2 separate regions of the Homo sapiens genome follow, and region 2 is linked to region 1. Evidence: promoter capture Hi-C in 16 types of primary human blood cells and fetal thymus (Javierre and others, 2016). All regions are on one chromosome and are shown on one strand. Each heading gives the region's core, a stretch centred on a gene start or on the middle of the fragment in contact. The rest is flanking DNA. Distances are from core to core; before and after follow the strand shown. Region 1 holds the start of FAT4 (FAT atypical cadherin 4). Region 2 overlaps LOC105377406 (a long non-coding RNA gene).

Region 1 (3,071 bases), core at 535-3,034:
TTTTTGAAAAACAGGCTTAAATGTCTCTAAAAAGTCTAGAGTCTAATGTTTTCAAGTTTTAAAATACATAAATGGTTAAATTTAACTTTTTTGTCTGTTTCCAGTTAACTCATTACATTACAGTAGAGGAATATGTAGAAGTTAGCTTTTTAACCTAAACAGAGGAATTGGTGATAGCTTTAGAAATCATGTTTCCATAAATCAGTTTTGAGTTACAGGCTGCCTGCATCATCAAGACTTGAATTTGCTGTCTGTCCTACTATTCTTGATTTTTTTTTTTTTACTCTAAATAAGAAAGGCACTAGGAAAGTCTTAGAGATCGTTTTCTTTGCTGCTATCCCTAGGCAAGAAGCAGGAATTAGCCTTGTAATCCGATCCTTTTAGTCTCTGCATTTAATTTTAAGCAAGAAACCAGGAGACTAAAGATGTAAGACTGACGTAGAACAGCAGAGGGCAGTATTTACTCATGACTGAACCCTCTCTGGGCGCAGAAAGTTTTACGTTTGTGAGGGATCCTTGTGGCAGAAATGTATGACATATGCCCTGTATTTGCATTGTTTGGCTTGAATTCTTATTTTCTAGGTTGGTTCCCTTAAAGGGGAAAAATATCGATCTGATTCCTAGTAACGTTTTTCTTCTTTTAAAGAAACGATGCATGCCACCACAAAAATTAACTGCAGTGAATAGTGGGTGAGTTGATCTGAGTGCATTAAGTGGCATGTGGGTATTTTTAAAAACTTAAGCTTAAATATTATTTTATTTATTTCTACTTTCTCGTATCTATTTCTCCCAGACTGAAAAGCAAAATAAAACTTTATTAGGTTTCCTTTGACTAAAAAATGTGGAGGTGGAAATACTCCATCAGGGATCAAAATTCCAAACTAACTTTGCAACAGGAAAAGATCTCCCTCTTTTCAAAGGGCTGCCATTATTATTGTTGTTGAAACCCTAAGGTTTGGGCTACTGGCACCTGGAATCCAGTTGGGAAAGAAAACAAAACAAACACTGAGTTCCCCTGGCCTTTCCTATAGTAGGAAGTCCAAAGTGCCCTTGCTACGGAGGCCTCCTGCCCCCTAGTCACCTGGAAGGTGGGGGAGAGGGGCAAGTGAGTGAAGATTTAGAGTTTAGCTCGCCCTAGACAGCAGGGAGCCCACTGTGTAGAAAGAGGAGCAAAGGGGAGGATTTGATTTGGATTCTGTGGGATCACACTGTATGGCAGCTCTATCCCTTGCATAAAGAGAGAAGGGGCAGGAAATGGTTAAAGCAAATCTGCACTGTGCATTCCCAGACAGGCTTTGCTTAATCCTTCCTCCCCGCTTTAACAGACCCTCACCCCCCGCCTTTCTTTTATTTCTCTCGACCCCCTTACCCCTGAGTTATTACTAGCATAACAACCTAACGGTCTTCCCCCAGACCCTGCCACTAAAGTTATTTATCTGCAAACCTGACCCCACCCCCATCTATTCTGCGGCAGCCTTTTGCTGTTATTGCTCTGACGCCGGCCAAGATTTGGCCGAAAAGGAAAAAAAAAAAAAAAAAAGAAAAGAAAAAAAATCACCCCCCTTTTTAGCGCCTCCGCCTCGCTGTGCTCCCACACCAGACCGCCTACAGCCCTCCGGGAGGCTGAAGTGATTAGCATCCCGAGAAGCCAGTCGGAGGCCGGGCAAGGCGGAGGGCGCTCGCGGTAGGAGTGCCGGTCGGGGCTGCTTCAGCTCCGGCCCAATGGGGCTGGGGCGAGGGAGGGGCAGAAGGTGACAGGACTGGGAGCTAGGGGGAGTCCAGGCGAACTAAAGTGCGGGGATCAATGAGTGTCGAGCAAAGTTTCTGAGTGCTGCTCCAGCTCGCGGTCTTCCCTCCCCCTCTGTTTGTGTTTCGGCGACGCGCTGTGTGTGTGTGTGTGCGTGTGTATGTGTGTGTGTGTGCATGCCTGTGCGGCGGGGAAGGGGCGGGGAGAGTGTGAGGGACCAGGCGGGAGGTGGAGAAGGGCTCGCGGAGCCCTAGCTCCACCGCAGTCCAACCTTCGGCCCCGGCCGGCGAGAGGGAGAGCGCTGACAGGCGCCGTCCGGAGCTGCGGAGGGCGTCACTACAGCCCAGCGCCGACTTCGCCGCCTCCGCTGCCAACTGTGAAGGAGAGAGAGGCATCAACCACCCCCCGCCCCAAACAAAAAGCCTTGTGGATTACAAAGTGAAACTGACACGGGACAATAAAAGCAGAGATAGCGAGGGCAGGGGCGAGGCGCGCTAGAGTGGGCTTCTGACTGGGGCCGCCGGAGAACGACCCCCCCTGGCATGGTGAGGGGAGGGCGACTCGGGGACCGCACGCTGTTTCTGCCCGACCCCTGCGAGGCCGAGAAGAAAGGGGAAACTGCGTTCGATTTGGATGTACAAATAATGGGTCGGCAGGCGCCCCGGCAGAGGTGAAAAATGCCGAGGAGCCCTGGCTGTTGTTTGTGCCGGACCACGGGCTTGAAGCCGCAACAGGGGCGGCGGCGGCGGCGGCTGCAGGAGGGGAAGGGGCAGAGTTGAGCGCTCCCGGGTACGGGAGCCAGAGCGCGAACGCTAGCGCTTGGAACGCAGTTCCCGAACTGCCTGCGCGCAGACGCCGCCGCCTGGGCCTCAGCGGCCACTGCCGGCGCCCTGTTGGAGGGGCGTTGCAGCCTGGTTTTTGAGGAGTGGGGACTCCAGGAATTCCATCGCCTCCAGCTTTTGGGAAAGAAATTCGATTCTCCCGGTTCCCCACCACCCCTTCCCCGGTGCGCAGTTGTGCTTGGACGTTTGTTCCTCCCTCTTCACGTTCTTCGCTGCGGGTAAGTTCTAAAGTTTCTGAAGACCGTTCTTTGCAATGATTCCTCATATACCTTAGATACAGGCAACTTCTCCCAACTCTCATCCACCCGGGTGAAAACGCTCAGACTATCTGGATTCAAAAACAAAGTAAAAGGGGGCATATATAAGAGGCTTGAGAAACTTTTCTGGGAACTCAGCTCACAGGAGTGTCCCGCGGAATGCCCTGCCGCTTTTCGCCACAGCATCTCTCTTGCACTCCGCGTTCAACTGGCTACCTAGAGTCT
Region 2 (2,876 bases), core at 56-2,555, 1.0 Mb before region 1:
AGAATGTTGGCTAAAATATGGATGGTAAGGCCATTCTGCTGAGACTTCAGATGGAAATGAGGAGCATGTCATGGGACAATAGAGAAAAGGAGATCCTTGTTATTAATAAGCAGCAAAAAAAATTAACTGACTTGTGTTTGTGTTCTACTGTTTTGTGGAAGGTAGAACTTGCAACCAAATTGGATATTTAACCGAGGAAATGTCTAAGCAAAGCATTGAAGGAGCAATTTGGTTACTCTTGCCTGATTATAGTTAAGTGTGAGAAGAAAGAAATGCTTTTAAGACAGAAATGTTGAGAAGGAAGTAGAATTTAAAGATTTGGAAAATTCTCAGCCTATCCACTTTGAAAACACTGAGAAAGTGTGTTGAGAAGAGACGATTAGGAGTATGGCCAAGTGACCATTTCAACCACAAACCTAAATAGCCCTCTCAACAGGAGCCAAGCATTGTTCTTGAAAATAAAGAAGGATGATACCACTTACCCCACAAGGTGATTCAGAGATAATCAGGGCTGCCTCCTTCACCACAGGCTCAGAGTGCAAGGGCCAGAGGCACAGAGCAATTTCAAAGGCTTGGGCATCCTCTCTGATTCAGGTGGGCCAGAATGCTCACACTCAATGCCTTAGGTATGGGCTTCCATGCCACAGCTGTTGCATGGGCTGTGCCCAATAGAGCCAGGGGGCAAGGTCACCACCCAGAGTCATGGTGCTATGACCCAAGACCAGCAGAGTCACCAGCATGTGATTCTAGCCCAGAAGAGCCATGAACACATGAGTCTTGCTCAGCAGAGCTGTGGAAATGGGGCCACTGCTCTAGGGGGTCTGGAGGGCAGAGAAGTTAGCCAGAGGATTATTTTGAACCTTAAGGTTTAATTCTTGAGCCCTGATGGGTTTTGAACTTACTTGATACCCTTCACCTCTTCCTTCTTTCCTATTTCTGTATTTGGAGTGGGAATGTTTATCTTATGCTTGTCTGACCAATGCATTTTGGAAGCACGTAACTGTTTTGTTTCACATGTTCATAGTTAAAGAGAAATTTAATGATAAATCATAACTTGTGCCTCCCTCATATTTGATGTAGATGATATCTAGATAAGACTTTGGACCTTAGTTTTTGGAGTTGATACTGGAATGAGTTAATGCTTTGGGGGCTGTTGGGTTGAAATGAATGCATTTTGCATGTGAGAAAGACACAAATTTGTGGGGGAGCAGAGGAGTAATGAAATGGACTGAATGTTTGTGTCCCTCAAAATTTATGTGTTGAAATCCTAACCCCCAATAGGATGGAACTAAGAGGTGGTGGTCTTTGGAAGGTAATTAGGTCATGAGAGTGGAGCCTTTGTGAATGGGATTAGTGCCTTATAAGAGGTGCTCTAGAGAGCTCTCTTGCTCTTGTGCCATGTGAGGACATGAAAAGAAGATAGTAGTCTGCAAACCATAAGAGGACCGAAACCCAACCATGCTGGCACCCTGGTTGTGGGACTTCCAGCCTATAGAATTGTGAGACAAAAGTTTTGCTTTGTTTTTTGTTTATAAGCCACCAGTCTATGGTATTTTGTTATAACACCCCAAACTGACTAAGACATCATTATACTTGGGTGGTTTTTAAATTTGTCTTCACTCCCATTCCCTATAATCTGTTTTGAAATTATAGCCATTTTAAGATTGGGTTGTTTGTATTCTTCCTATTGTGTGGCAAGAATTCTTTACATATTTCTTTATTAGATATGCATGCTGTGAACATGATCGTCCCACTTATGGCTTGCCTTTTCATTTTCTTAATGGTGTCTTTGAAAGAGCAAAAGTTTGTGTTTCTGTTATTTGAATTTTGAAGTCCAATTTTTCATTTTTGGATGGTGTATCCTTTTTTTAGTTCTATCTAAGAGACTTTACACCAAAGTCCCAAAGAGTTCCTCTCATATTTTCTTCTCAAAGTTTTACAGTTTCACTTGTTCTATTTAGATCTATGATCCATTTTGAGTTGATTTTGGTACGCAATATGAAGTAAAAGTTTAGGTCTATTTATAGACTTTCTGTTCTATTCCATCAATCCATATGTCTATAATTTCAACAAACCCAACTGTCTTAATTAGTATAGCTTTATAGTAAGTCTTGAAGTAAGGTAGAGAAACTCCTTCAACTTTGTTCTTTGAAAATATTGCTTTTGCTTTCCAGTTTCTTTGCATTTCTACATAAATTTTATAATTTACTAGCAATGTTGACCAAAATATAAAGACTTCTAGGATTTTTATTGGGATTACATTAAATCTATAGATTAACTTTCAGAGAATTGTCTTTGTAACTGTTATTTCATGTTCAAATCTACAAACATGGCATATCTCTCCATTTATTTAGACTTCTTTATTTTCTTTCACAAATTTTTATAGTTTTTAGAAAAGAGATTCTACAAATAAAATTTAAACATAATATGCAGCACAAAATCCAAGATAACCAGGCACATGAAGGGACAGGAATCAAACAAAGCAAAAGCCAGAAGAATCAGCAGCACTAGAGAATTTTGTAAGAGCACTATTTGGGAAGACAGGCATTATATTTTCCAATAAAAACTTCTAGAGACTACAGATAATGGCATTATTAGATACATGCTATAAGAATTATACTTTCTGTGTCCAAAGAAATAGAACCAAAGCTTGAAATTATCAGCAGGTATCCGGAAATTATAAAAGGGTGATATAGCAGATTGGAAATTGAACCAAATATATGTTCTCAAACTAAAAATTACAATAGTCTTACTATAAAATAAAATAGGGAGGTTTAATAACAGGTCAGATGCTTCTCTTCAGGTGAAGAGAAAATTAATGATATGAAAAGTAAATCAGAAGAAAATATCTACAATTAAGCGTGGAAATACAAAAG

The links. Contacts are between HindIII fragments. The CHiCAGO score rates a contact against its expected background, and 5 or more counts as called.
Region 2: a contact is called between a fragment that was not itself captured here and the fragment with the promoter of FAT4 in region 1, in 1 of 17 cell types (monocytes). The highest score is 6.1, in monocytes.

What each region holds. Positions count from the first base shown.
Region 1 is chr4:125,313,171-125,316,241 of GRCh38, forward strand. FAT4 (FAT atypical cadherin 4) reads left to right here and starts at 1,785. Exons shown (of 18, transcript NM_001291303.3): 1 at 1,785-2,807. The HindIII fragment of the contact is 5,556 bases long and covers 742-3,071 here.
Region 2 is chr4:124,294,188-124,297,063 of GRCh38, forward strand. All of the region lies in intron 3 of LOC105377406 (a long non-coding RNA gene), which reads left to right. Among named protein-coding and RNA genes, the nearest start is that of LINC02516, 260 kb to the right of the region's middle. The HindIII fragment of the contact is 2,684 bases long and covers 1-2,647 here.